Regions from separate parts of the Homo sapiens genome. Here regions 2, 3, 4 and 5 are each linked to region 1. Evidence: promoter capture Hi-C in 16 types of primary human blood cells and fetal thymus (Javierre and others, 2016). All regions are on one chromosome and are shown on one strand. Each heading gives the region's core, a stretch centred on a gene start or on the middle of the fragment in contact. The rest is flanking DNA. Distances are from core to core; before and after follow the strand shown.

Evidence for each region. Contacts are between HindIII fragments. The CHiCAGO score rates a contact against its expected background, and 5 or more counts as called.
Region 2: a fragment that was not itself captured here is called in contact with the fragment with the promoter of TFAP2A-AS1 in region 1 in 1 of 17 cell types (M2 macrophages); the score reaches 6.5 in M2 macrophages.
Region 3: a fragment that was not itself captured here is called in contact with the fragment with the promoter of TFAP2A-AS1 in region 1 in 1 of 17 cell types (M0 macrophages); the score reaches 5.5 in M0 macrophages.
Region 4: a fragment that was not itself captured here is called in contact with the fragment with the promoter of TFAP2A-AS1 in region 1 in 1 of 17 cell types (M2 macrophages); the score reaches 5.0 in M2 macrophages.
Region 5: a contact is called between a fragment that was not itself captured here and the fragment with the promoter of TFAP2A-AS1 in region 1, in 1 of 17 cell types (M1 macrophages). The highest score is 6.0, in M1 macrophages.

What each region holds. Positions count from the first base shown.
Region 1 is chr6:10,410,872-10,413,571 of GRCh38, reverse strand. TFAP2A-AS1 (TFAP2A antisense RNA 1) reads right to left here and starts at 1,254. Exons shown (of 3, transcript NR_033910.1): 1 at 1,205-1,254. All of the region lies in intron 1 of TFAP2A (transcription factor AP-2 alpha), which reads left to right. RefSeq lists a silencer at 655-1,014. The HindIII fragment of the contact is 20,769 bases long and covers 1-2,700 here.
Region 2 is chr6:10,043,310-10,046,009 of GRCh38, reverse strand. All of the region lies in intron 1 of LOC105374919 (a long non-coding RNA gene), which reads right to left. It also overlaps the pseudogene OFCC1. Among named protein-coding and RNA genes, the nearest start is that of TFAP2A-AS2, 360 kb to the left of the region's middle. The HindIII fragment of the contact is 3,914 bases long and covers 1-2,700 here.
Region 3 is chr6:10,078,765-10,081,464 of GRCh38, reverse strand. It overlaps the pseudogene OFCC1. Among named protein-coding and RNA genes, the nearest start is that of TFAP2A-AS2, 320 kb to the left of the region's middle. The HindIII fragment of the contact is 3,027 bases long and covers 1-2,700 here.
Region 4 is chr6:10,021,055-10,023,761 of GRCh38, reverse strand. It overlaps the pseudogene OFCC1. Among named protein-coding and RNA genes, the nearest start is that of TFAP2A-AS2, 380 kb to the left of the region's middle. The HindIII fragment of the contact is 8,032 bases long and covers 1-2,707 here.
Region 5 is chr6:10,062,727-10,065,426 of GRCh38, reverse strand. It overlaps the pseudogene OFCC1. Among named protein-coding and RNA genes, the nearest start is that of TFAP2A-AS2, 340 kb to the left of the region's middle. The HindIII fragment of the contact is 295 bases long and covers 1,253-1,547 here.

The DNA of each region.
Region 1 (2,700 bases), core at 5-2,504:
GAGGCTGGGGGCGAGCTTTGCGGGCAGGTAGGAATGAAGCCGAACCCCTCAGTCTCATAGGACAATTCATACTGTACTGGTCTGGGCTTTGGCCGGAGGCTTGGGCATTTCACTTTCGCAGAGGCCGAAACCCAGCTCCAGGTGTGGGCGCCCTCGGCGGGCGGGGTCCGAACCTCCGTGCGGCTCTAGGTGCCGACTGGATGGGGTGGGTGGCTAGGTGGGGGATGAACTTGCACCCCTAGAGGGATCCTGTGGGGGCAAGTGTGAATGCGTGTGTAAGCGAGGCAAAAAAAGATGAGAGAGAGAGGAGAATAAAGTCAAAGCTGTTTCCACAACTTTGGCCGTGGTGGGCAAGCGCCGGAGCGGGGATTTCGGGTTTCGGAGCTGGCTTGGGGCAGTCTGATTGTGCCGGGGCTCTGTAGGGACACGCAGGAGGCGAGGTGCCGCTTGTTCTGACAACCTGGCGGGTAGACTGGCAAAGGCAGCACGCCGGGAGAGCTAGTCGTGTCATCTGGGGGGGCGTCAGGCGGGAGTGGCCCAGCCAGTCGGACGGGTTTTTGCCGGGAGCCGCGAGCCGGTGCCAGCGGCGCCCGGGCTGGGCCGCCTAGCGTCTGTGCGCGCCCCGGCCCGCATCCCGGCTCCCGATCCGGAATCCCCGGCCCCAGAGAGCCGAGGGCAGAGCGACGGTGGCCGGGGAGCGCACGGTGCCCCTGTCCGAGGAAAGCTCAAGAGGAGGCCGAGGAGAGGACCAGTGCAGCGAGCGGGCCGGTCCCGGGCAGGGCGCCGGGTCATGGAGGAGCCGCGCAGCAGCGGGCAGCCGAGTCCCGAGTCCCAGACTCGGCTGCGAAGCGGCGGAGCCCGCGGCCAGACAGGGCCGGGAAGCGCCTGCCGCGCCGAGAGCCCCACGAGCGCCCGGACGCGGTCCCAAGCAGCTCCTACCCGCTACGCACGACCCCCGCTGCATCCCGAGGTCTGCCCCAGCCTTTTAGGTCTGATTGTCCTCGCTCGCTTCCTCTCCCCTTCCCCCTCCCCCGCGGCCTCCCCCTCCGTGCGCTCCGGCTGGGCCCCCTCCCCCTCCCTCCCTCCCTTCCTCCCTCCCTCTTTCCCTCCCTTCCTCCTCTCGGGCTCTCCCTCCTTCCCTCCCTCCCCTCTCCCCACCCGGGGCTCCTCTCCCTCGCCCACACTTTCTTTCTCACACACGCACGCAGACACATTCTCCCTCTCTGCGCTCTCTCCTTCGGTCTCCCTCTCTGCCTCTTTCTCTTTCACTTTTGCATGCCCTGCAACCTTTTAAAATGTTGCCCCTTCCCTGTGATTCGCCAGACGCCGCGCCGCGGCCCCCCGCGCGCTCGCCCGCTCCCTCTCTCGCTCGCTTTTTGTCTCTCGCGCTCCCTCTCCCCACTCCGATTTGCTACACTGAGACTCCCGTCAATGGACTGCATTGAGAGCCGGCTCCGGCGCGAGTTGCCTCTCCGCTTCACGCTCGATTTCCAGGCATTCTTCCCTTATTAAGTATTCGTGTAATATTAATAGTCATGAATATCTGCTATTAGGAGGCTCCAGGAACGCTGCCCAGCGCGGTTATTAGAAGCTCAAGCGAAGCCGCCGCTAAGAAAAGAGGGGGAGACACGGATTAAGGAACACGCACGCACCCACACACTCACACATACTTTTTCCTTTTTCCTTTTTTGGGGTTTTTCATTTTTAAAGAACTTTGAATCATAACCAGTCGCGGCAGGATAGAGACCGTGGGTTCGACCAGCTGAAGGCGCCGCGCGAATCGGTGGTTCAAGTTCGGATGGATCCGAGCCGGGCTCCCGCGCTCCGGGGAGCGTCGGCGCCGTGACTGGAGTCCTGGGTGGCGCGGGGCTCTCGGCGCCTTTTGTGTGGGGCGCGCTCGGGCGGCGGGGCAGCCGGGCGCTCCAGGCTTGCTTGTTTTTTTCCACCCTGACTCGTTACCCCAGACTCTTCGCAGATGTTAGTTCACAGTTTTTCAGCCATGGTGAGTCCCATCCCCACCCCCGTTGCTGTTTCTTTAGGAATTGGATTCTGGAAACCTGGTGCCGTGGAGCTGCCCGAAACCTCGGGTTTCACGCCCAGCTTTCCTTCAGGACACCCTCTCCATTTGCATCCCCCACCCCACCTTCCGCCTTTCTCTCGCTCTTTTCCATCCCTAAATCGAGTGCATTACCCCCTACCCCAGCCCCCGCTCGACCTCTCCGAGCACGCAGACCTACCTCGCCGCGGCTTCCCAAGGCGTGTTTCTCCCCACGTTCATCTTGATTTCCTTGAGTCTTCACTTGTCCCCGAGATGTTCTCAACATTTGATGCTTAAACTGTCTGCAGGAAAAGTGCAGCGCGGTGTGCCCCCTACCCTCGGGACCTGCGGCCGAACCGCCGAGGGTTCGCGGTCTCTGGAATCAACTCTCTTCGCTTGTTTTGCAAGGGAATTGCAATAGAGAAACCTAAAGTCAGGCGTTTCTTCTGCCCTTTGGGGCTGGGGTGGAAGGGGCGGGGGGGGGGGGCCACAGCCCCGGGGTGCACCTCTCTCTTTTAAACCCAATAAGGCTGAATCTTTCTATTTTAAACCTTGACTTGACGTCCCCCTTTCCCTATCCAAACCATAAATCGACTCTGTCGAGAAAAAGGCTCCTAACAGAGGAAGCGAAAAAGACAGACCCCGATCCTGCAGTTAAAACC
Region 2 (2,700 bases), core at 3-2,502, 370 kb after region 1:
AAAAATGAGAGAGTTTGTGTATGGGAGGGCAAAGATTTTCTGAAAAAAGAAAATGATTAAAAATTAATGAAAGTTACAAAACTTTGCATGCATCTCTGCTGCATGAAAATCTCTTATACTTGAAGATCAAATGATCAGGAAACATAGGTTATCTATTTTCATGTGTTCCAGAGGTTTCTCATGTAGGCCATATAGTTTTGGCATGACAAGTTCTAATTCCTCTTTTACAATCTAAGTTCAGTGATGCTTTTATTATCATAAAAGTCAATATCAATTTTTTTCCAACTGGGCATCTTGTTTCTGATTATATGAAACATTCTTTTATTACTTAAAAGTATAGCAGAATTTTAGAAATGTTCCCAAAATAGTGAACTAAACCCTTGAAAAACTGTGATAGCCTCTTGTTAAGAATCACACAACAGTGGAAATAAAAAATAAACAGGTGGTTCTTCAAATGCAGCCAAAAAAGGACTAACTGCGTTTAACAGAGTTAAAACGCTCATGCATTTTCTGATTTAACAGATTGACCCTTCCTGGGGCTTTTATTTTACTTAATACTACAGAGTCAAACAGTATGTTTTATTAAGTATGGTACTCTGGCATTTTGTGGTATGTGTGCGTGTGTGTGTGTGTGTATGTGTGTTTGTGTATGCTTACAAGTTCAGTTCACTGTTTTGGCCAAATTATTTTCATAACCGTAGTATTTTTGACTAAACCACTTAGTTTTTCACTTTGCTGGTTAAGTGGTAGAGATGGAATACAAGCTATGGATCACCTGGCACAAAACCCCATGTGTTTCATGCTACAAAATGGATACTTGAATAGGATAATGAACCTTGGACTATGCTAAGTGAAATAAGCCAGTCACAGTGGACAAATATTGTAATTCCACTTCTATTAAAGGCACACAGAGCAGCCAAATTCATAGAGACAGAAAGTAGAATGGTGATTGCTAAGGGGTGGGGAGAGAGAAGGATGGAGAGTTAGTGTTTAATGCATACAGAAGCTCAGTTTTGGAGGATGAAATAATTCTAAAGTTGGATGGTGGTGGTAGGTGTTCAACATTGTGAACTTGCACAGAACTGTATGCTTCAAAATGGTTAAGTTGTAAAGTTCATATTGTGTTATTCAACTATAATTAAAAATGATTTAAAAGAAGCTCATGCATTTTCTGATTTAACAGGTTGACTCTTCCTGGGGCTTTTATTAATACACATTTGATAATATGTAATTTATTTTTATTTTAGCATATCAATTTTAAAGATCTCTGGAAATCAGTAGTTTAATTCATGAGAATATTCAACATATAGTCCCAACTTGAGATAATTTCTGAAGAGTCTAAAATGGTGATTACCATTGGATTGGAAACTAAATCAAGGTCATATATAAAAACCTTAATGATTCCTTATGTGTGATTAGTGTTTGACAGTGTATAAAATGTTTGAGAGGGGAGCTAATTTTTAAAATTGTCACAATAAACTCATGAGTATTATCTGTATTTTTATGGATTAGAAAATGGAGGCAGAGAGATAAAATATCCCATAGAGATAAGTGAGTCTTCTGACTCCACTGCTAGTAGTTACCATTTAGCCAAGGAGAGAGAAGAAATGAACTAACAAGCATGGCGGCCTTACCAAAAGCAACACCAAATCCTGACTATGGCCTCTTTAGGGAGCGGGACTCACATATTAGGGCACATTAAACATACTTGCAGGACAAGGGCCATGGTGCAGGAGGGCAGAAAACACACAGGGAAGAAGGGTGTGAGGGGATATACATGGGGTCAGTCCATGTTAAGTCTGATTTTTGGAGCTTCCACTTTGTAAAACCTCCATAATGCACAGTAGCACCTAGGGGGATAATCCATTCAACTTAATAGTGAAGCCTTAAATTGATAATCAGCGAACTCTGTTTTGTCCCCTAGTTCCGTAACTGTTTTAGTGCTTGTAATCTTGCATCTCAAGAATCTTGCATTCTCTCTCTCACACACACACACACACACACACACACACACACACACACCCCTAAAGTAGACAACAAAATCCAAGCACCCCAAACACAGCCAACACAGAATAAACCCTCACTTTTGTGTCTGGATGGAATGTCTCCCCTTATGTGTGAGTCTGTTGTCTTTGTATTAGATGGTAAGTGCCTGGTAGGCGGGGACCCTGTCATTCTGGATTAAGTCTCCTATAGGCTTAGTGAGTCACCACAAGCCAGGGAGTGCTTATTAGACATTACTTGACTGACTGTTAAGACAAGTAATTAGGCCAGGAGAAATGCTAATTTTAAAATGTCTGTAAATTCCCGAACTTCACACGAGGAAAGTCCAGTGACCTGGGTTAGCTCTTGGGAATTAGTAATGTGATACAGAATCTTTCCCCTTTGTGTCACCTGTTACAATTTGGCCTCCCTTTTATGTGACTGGAAATCATTACCAGCAGGTAGCTCTACCCAGCCTGGTGTCTACAACCAGAGTGATGTGGAAGATCCTGGTGACATGGGGCAGGTAACAATCTGCATTTATCAATTTTCCTGGATTGTTCAGACAATTCGATCACTCCACGAAGGCCTGTGAGCCCATTTTGGTGGATCAGCATTGCGGTAGGTTACGAACTGAGTTTGAGGACAAACAAATCTTTCTTTTATCTAAGGCAAGGTCTACAATGGTCCATCCTTCCTTTTATTGATGTTATAAGA
Region 3 (2,700 bases), core at 2-2,501, 330 kb after region 1:
GCACGGCTTCTCTTGACTGCTTATAGGAAATGCGAGGAGACAGAAAAGATTCAAAGACAGAATTTATCATCAAAAGGGAAGCAGAAGTTAAAGATGCAGAAAATTCTCAGCCTGCCGATATTGTAACAAATGAGAAAGCATGTTCGGGAGAGCACACCAAAGGTGTGAGTAAGGAGATTAGTATGTACCAGCCACATGCTATTCATCAAGACAATAGAAGAGTGACTCTTAAGGCATTTTAAAGATCTGTGGGGCTGCCACTCCCATCACAAGTCCAGAGTGCCAGGGCCTCAAGGACAGGACCGTTTCAAAGGAGAGGACCAGGGTGCCTGTGGGATCTCAGGGCTCTCTGCCCAGCGCCACCTTAAAGCTCTGCTCCCTACTTGTCAGCAGTAGTCCTCGGCTGCCCTAGGTTTGGTTCGAGCAAGCCGTGGTACAGTGGTGGCTACTCCTCCAGAGAGCACAGGCAGTAAATCTTGGTGGCATTTGCATGGTGCCATCTTCACATCTTCACTGGTTTGCAGAGTGCATGGGCCATGGGAGTGTGGCTGCCTCCAAAAAGATTTCAAATGATGCCCAGGAGAGTCTTGGGGCTCAGAGAGCTGAAATGGGCTCCTCTCAGTAGCCGCCTTGATATAGTGGCTCCCAGATCCAGAGCTGCTACAGCTATGCTACAGCTATAACAAGGGGATATAGCTGTGTACTGATTGCACAATCATTTTTCAGTTCTGGCACTATAATTCCCCAAAAGAAGCAACCCCTCTTGTAATGTGTTTAATTTTTTTTTTTTTTTTTTTGAGATGAAGTTTCACTCCTGTCGCCCAGGCTGAAGTGCAGTGGTGCGATCTTGGCTCGTTGAAACCTCTGCCTCCTGGGTTCAAGCAATTCTCCTGCCTCAGCCTCCTGAGTAGCTGGGATTACAGGCAGCCACCACCACACTCGGCTAATTTTTTGTATTTTTTTTTTAGTAGAGACAAGGTTTTGCCATATTGGGTAGGCTAGTCTTGACCTCCTGACCTCAGGTGATCTGCCTGCCTCGGCCTCCCAAAGTGCTGGGATTACAGGCAGAAGCCGCCGTGCCTGGCCTAATTTCTATAACTATGTGGTTGTTATAATTTTTTCCCCATAAAAATAGCATTAATAAAACTTCAGAAAGAAAATTTTAAAAAACCTCTAGCTTACAAAATATTCTAGCAAAAGATATATCAAATACATTTTCTTGTGAAGAGGTAAGAATCACTGAGTTTCCTTCTGAAACAAAAATCTGATCTATCTTTTCCTCAGTGCATTTGTATTTTCATTTATCAAAACAATATGCATACATCAAAAGTGTAGTTAGGAAGCCCATTCATAACCAGTATTCAACAGTTATTGTGCATGTAAAGAAGTCTACTATCCCCTGAACTCAAAGCACTCTTCAGAATTTATTGAGCATGGAAGAATAAATTTTTTACTACAGATAAAATGGCAAAACAGGAAACATTAAAGAAATCTTTTTTACACCTCTAATCGCTATTTCTTTCTGGCAGCTATCTCTTTGGAGAAAGATATCTAATGACCTCTCTTTACCAATCAGATTATTATCATAATGGGTTCATGTCCTAAAGACATCACATTAAAGTAGACGCAGTAGCTGAACTCAGATTTTATGGAATATAAATTTAGACATTTTCCTGCCTTACATGGTGAGTTTTAAAATAAAACATCAAGGCATCAAGAAAAAGTGCCACTTTATTCATGCAGACTAAACTTCTTGTTCTTCTTATCATATTTATGTTAACACACATGCTCACACACTTTCTCAATCAGGTAGTATTTGCAGGAGGCAAATACATTTCTTGTTCAAAATGTCTCTAGTTTATTGTAGTTTGTGGGCCCACAAATCGTTCAGCCCAAAGGAGTACAGGAAAAATGGGGAACAAGAACCACAGCTCTGCTTACGGAGGTTCACAGACACCCAGTCAGTACAAAATAATGAGGTGTACTTGCTTGTTTTGCCTAAAATGCAGCAGTGATATGGATTAGGAATGTTTAGTAGCCTTGTGGCCCTGCCAATGAGTAAAATACACATTCAAGGAGAAAATAAACTTCCTCTTGAAATACCTGCACTACTTCTGTTTAAACTGTTACACCATGAACCTGAATTCATCCTATGCCTAACAACATTTTTCAGGTAAATTAGGCTGCCTGATAGCTGATACCTACCAGTCACAAGAGGAAATATGCTCCAAGATGGAGAGAATGACCACTTGCCAAAAGACCACTTCCTGTCTTTATTAGACACCAGTGAGCCATTCTGGTTGGTAACTGCCCCTCACTGTGACGAATAGACTGGTTCGGAGTTCATTTTGCCAAATCAGCTTGGTGGTGCCCTCAGATTTTGCCAGTAGGAAACCAGTGTCTGCTCCTGCAGGAACCAATTTGTTCCTTCATGGAACTAAAACCACTGTTGCTTTCAGTGGATCGTGGGAATTGGAAATAAATACTAGGTTACACTACTAGTGAGAAAATGCACACATGCGCACGCGTGCATAAATATATTAACACATGCATGCACACACAGCAGTTGTTACCTCCTGATGATTTTGGTTTCAGGACTGACCTACACCTCAAACCAAAATGAATGAACAAGCAAAAAAATAGTCTCAGTCTAGGAACTTGGCCAAAAAGGCTTTTAATCCTACATAAGATTTATCGTCA
Region 4 (2,707 bases), core at 208-2,707, 390 kb after region 1:
TAGGAAGAGGGCAAAACCTGTACCTCAGTAGACCTGTGGGATGTCCCTGGATGATCTCTACCATAAGGAATCACTAATGTCTTGGCCACTGTGGTATTACTGTCATCTCCATGACCATCATGGTTGAAAAACTCATTTTATTAGTGAGTGGTTGTAGCCTCATTCACTCCCACACATTCATTCATTTATTCTTTCAGCCAATACTTCAATAACACTCAGCATATGACATGCCTGATGACAGGCACACTGTCTCTGCCCTTGAAGGACTCAGTGAGGTGGAGGAGACACAGGAAAACCCCAAAATACAGGAACATTATAAGCACTGTGATTGCTGTGTGAGGATGATGATGGTGAGGGCACAGGAGAGGAACTCTTCAGTGACAAGAAGTCAGGCAACACTTTAGCAAGGATTAGGTATTTGAACTGAAACTCAAATGACGTCCAGAAGTTTGCCAAACACACAAGGTAGTTGAGTGCAGCCTAGGCAGCAGGAACAGCATGAGAAGAGGTTAAAGAGTCACAGCTGCAGGAGGTACAACATAGCCAGAGCCTTGAATGGTCAAGGGCGTGGTGGGAAGGAGGCTTGAGAGGCAGGGCTGGGCTGTTGAAGGGCCTTAGAAACCATAGTAGGGAGTGAGGTCTTGGCTATGTAGATGCTGAGCAGGAGTGTAAGTTTTTAAGTAGAGGAGTGACCTGATCATATTTATGTTGTAGGAAAAGTGTTTCTGCAGAAGTGTGGAGAATTAATTTGAGGGGAAGGCAGAGGTGGTGGGCCCACTGTGTAACCAGGGGCCACGAGGCCAGGCCAGGTATCACAATCAGTGAGGGTGGGAGAGTGCTGGTCTAAATGCTTTACAACAGGTTCTCCAAAAGAAAAGGTAAATTGCAGGTTTGTAGCATTTGTTGATTTTTTATGGTGTAAACATTGTCACCATGTTCGATTTCAAGCTACAGACACACTGTCGCTACTGAACACACAGCCGCATGCCATTATATAGTATTTCCACCAGACACAATGGGGCAGGATGATCTCAAGCGCATAGGTAATAGTAAACTGGAGTAAAATAATTAGGAGGTGATGAGTTTTAACCATTTAATGCCTTTTTAATCTAATTTATTTAATTTTAAGTTTGTGTAATTTAATTTTTCTCTTTTTCTTTGAGATACAGTCTCTCCCTGTCACCGAGGCTGGAGTGCAGTGATATGATCTCAGCTCACTGCAACCTCCACCTGCTGAGCTCAAGTGGTCCTCCCACCTCAGCCTCCGAAGTAGCTGGGACTGCAGGTCCGTGCTACCATGCCCGGCTAATATATTTCATGAGAATTTAACAATCCATTTTCCTGCCTGGTACAAAGGTCTAGCCAACTACTAAATGGGAGAAAAATAGAAATTTTTAAAAAGCGTTGTTTATGATTGGACAGCTGAGTATATTAACCAAAATAGAAGGAAGTTAAAGGAAGAACATATATCTGGTGGGAAGATAATGAGCACATCCCAGTAGAGTGAAGTTAATTTGGTGAGCGTTTATGAATACCTGTATATTCGAGGAACTCTGCTAGGCTTGGACATAGAATAGTGAACGGGAAGAACAGCAAGTACACAGTTCCTTTTCTCAAGGAAACTGCAGCTAAAGGCTCTAGACAAATAAACAGGTTTTTATAAAAGTTGTATGATACGATTAGCTTGGGATGATACGAGAGTACCTTTGTATAGAACCCAGACTTGTGGGTGGGGTTTTGGAGTATGTACCAGAGGAAGTGACATTACACTGAGACCAGAGAACAAGTAGGCTTGGTTCTGATGGTGAGCATTCCAGGCCAGACAGCATGAAGGGGATGGGGAAAATGACACAGGTCATTGACCAAGGCGAGGAAAAAGGGAGAGGGTTTGATAGAGAGTTAGGATGTCAAAGTGGTAGGAATTGGTGTTTGATTAAAGATGAGTGAGAAGTTTGGGAGGCTGAGGCGGATGGATCACTTGAGATCAGGAGTTCGAGGTCAGCCTGATCAACATGGTGAAATCCCTTCTCTTCTAAAAATACAAAATTAGCCAGGTGTGTTGGCGCAGGTGTGTAATCCCAGCTACTTGGGAGGCTGAGGTGGGAGAATTGCCTGCATCTGGGAGGCAGAGGTTGTAGTGAGCTGAGATAGTGCCACTGCACTCCAGCCCAGGCAACAGAGTGAGACTCCATCTCAAAAAAAGAAAAGAAAAAAAGGTGGGCAGGGCATAGCTGAACAAAAGGCAGCAGACAACTTCTGCAGACTTAAATGTCCCTGTCTGACAGCTCTGAAGAGAGCAGTCATTCTCCCAGAATGGCATTCAAGCTCTGAGAACGGACAGATTGCCTCTGCAAGTGGGTCCCTGACCCCTTTGTAGCCTGACTGGAAAACACCTCCCAGTAGGGACCGACAGATGCCTCATACAGGCAGGTGCACCTCTGGGAGGAAGATTCCAGAGGAAGGATTAGGCAGCAAAATTTGCTGTTCTGCGGCCTCCGCTGGTGATATCCAGGCAAACAGCGTCTGGAGTGGACCTCCAGCAAACTCCAGAAGACCTGCAGCTGAGGGGCCTGACTGCTAGAAAGAAAAAAAAAAAAAGGTGAGTGAGAAAGATTCTGTGCTGCTTATAGGAAATTTAAGTGGAAATTTTCTAGAGGAAGATAGAAACATGGGTTTGGTATTTCATAGACAAGTTTTTGTGGTTTTT
Region 5 (2,700 bases), core at 151-2,650, 350 kb after region 1:
AATATAGAATAGAATCTAAAGGTGGAGAGTGCTCAAAAATTGATTAAATTGGTAATCGTATGGCAACTATTCTGAAGGAATGGCAAACTTTTTTGTTTCTAAACAGAAGAAAATTTCTCAAATAGTAATTTTATAACCTAATCACTTCAGAACAATATATATATTGAAATAAAGAAATACCATTCCAGGCATTGTTTAAGACATTAGAATCTACTGTCTTTGCATCCAAATATATGCCATCTTGGCTGGGCACAGTGGCTCACACCTGTAATCCCAGCACTTTGGGTGGCTGAGGTGGGCAGATCACTTGAGCTCAGGAGTTTGAGACCAGCCTGGGCAACATGGTGAAACCCCATCTCTACAAAAAAATACAAAAATTAGCCAGGCGTGGTGAGATGTGTCTGTAATCCCAGCAACTCTGGAGGCTGAGGTGGGAGGATTGCTTAAGCCCGGGAGGCAGAGGTTGCAGTGAGCTGAGATTGCGCCACTGCATTCCGGCCTGGGTGACAGAGTGAGGCCCTGCTGCAAAAACAAAAACAAAAAACCCATCCCCAAAACAAAAAAACAAAACAAATATATGTTATCCTTTCAAGAGTTTATACTTCCAATATAAACTTTATGTCAAAAAGGAAATCCTGTGAAAGTCCTATGGGAAACTTTTTAAGTTGAATAAGAAATATGTCTTATAATTCATTGCAGTACTTACTGTTTTTTATAATCTCATGATAATAAATGTATTAAGGACATAGTCTGTGTTCTAGGTTTTCCCACATGAAAAACTAAAACCAGTAGCCAGTTTCTTGGGTATAATTTCACTGTGTGCTCAGTTAAATAGATGTGTGTTGATGGCATTCTCTTTCATGTCACAACACATAAAATTAAATGTTTCAATTGCTTTGTTTTGCAAGCATTTACAGAAGGTAATTCTACCTGTACTTGTTAGTTTGTTCCCAGTGAAAAAAAATTATATATATATAATACATATATAGTAAATGCTGCTTTAAGTTTATTCTTTTGTATCTGAAAAATAATTACTTCACTATTTGGAATGACTTATAAAATAAAGCATCTGCAATATTTTTCTTCTGACTTGCATAAAAAGAAAAATGAATGTATTATTGTTCATATATTTTATTTGGGGTTTCAAAATTTTGATGTTTAGAGCAGTAGTTCTCAATTTCTTCGAACGCAGCACATGTGAAAGATGACATTAACGTATCTGACACCCTGTGGTTGGTGATGCAGATAAGCTTTGTTATTTCCCCCTGCAAATCCCTGCACGTTGACTGCAATTCCACAGATTTCTCTTCCTCTCCAGAAAGTGTATTTGAATGCAATCAATGAGACTGACCTTAATTAAAAGAATAATTTGCATATAAGCTAATTTCATAAAGAATTAACTCACTTGCACATTTTGTTTTTTGTTATTAATAGTGAATTATGGATGCCCAAATTATGGTGTTTGGTGACAACGGGTTTGAGGAAAAAAAATCAAAGGCAAAAATCTACCAGATATTTTAACAAATTGTAGAAATAGTTGAGAAGCTTAGAAGGGATTTTAAATTCTATAAAGTTTTGGATAAGTTGTGATGATAAGAAAAGAGAAGTTGTAAATTTCATGGGATGTAGGAATTCACCCTTTATTATGAGGTTACTTCATGTATTACGTGAGTCTACTCTAAAATTACCATTCCATTAGATGAAGGAAAGAGAAATAATCCAGAAATAATGGATTAATGCCTTTTAGGGCTTAATTTTTTAAAAGTCTTGATTAAATTGTGTTATAAAAGAAAATACTTTGCATTCATGGTTAATGAAAGAACAGACTCTACGTGTTCTTGTTTTAGTGTGATTACAAGTGTTCTTTCTGGAATGTCCCTTAGTCTCCATATAGGAAAATCCTATATTTCCTTTAGAACATCCTCACAACTCAAATAATTTTAGCCTTGGTGTACCCTGGGGGCTCTAAACTATATTAGCCAGTTGTCTACTCTTATGTCTACTTGGTTTTCTCAAAGGCAGCTCAAAATCAACAGGACCTATCTTTTCCCCCTCAAACTGGATCTTTGGCTGAGAACTGAATGGATGGCCCATAGGGACAGTGGACAGAGTTTCATTCCTGACTTGCTTCCTGGTAATTATCTTGGGCCATTTTTTCATCACCTCTTCCCTAGATCAAGGCATTAGCTTTCTATCCAGTCTCCATAGGTAGCTTGATTTCCATTTCAATTTTTAATGTCTTCTCCATATCCCAGCTAGAGTGACTGAGTTGAAGTATAAATACGATCATGCATGATCCTTCCTCCAGAGCCTGTGTTGTCAGAGTGTACACACAAGCACACACACACATACACACATTCACCCACACAAAACCTTTCAATGACTCCCCAGTTCTAAGATAATGACTAGAATCCTGAATACAATATGCAAGGTCCTGTGTGCCCTGCCTACTGGCCCCAAATTCATTTTGTGTTAGCTGTGTGTACTCCAGCCACACGAACTTTCTCTTGGACACTCTATGCTCCTGTTGGACTTGGTTTCCACAGATACTTTGTCCACACCCATGGGATTCCCCCTGCTTCTCCTCCCAGACTCTCCCTTGGTTAACTATTTATGGTTAACTCCTACTCACCCTTTAAAGCTCAACTTCCAGATCACTTTTTTAGTTGTCTTCTCTGACCCTCTAAATTAGTTTATCCT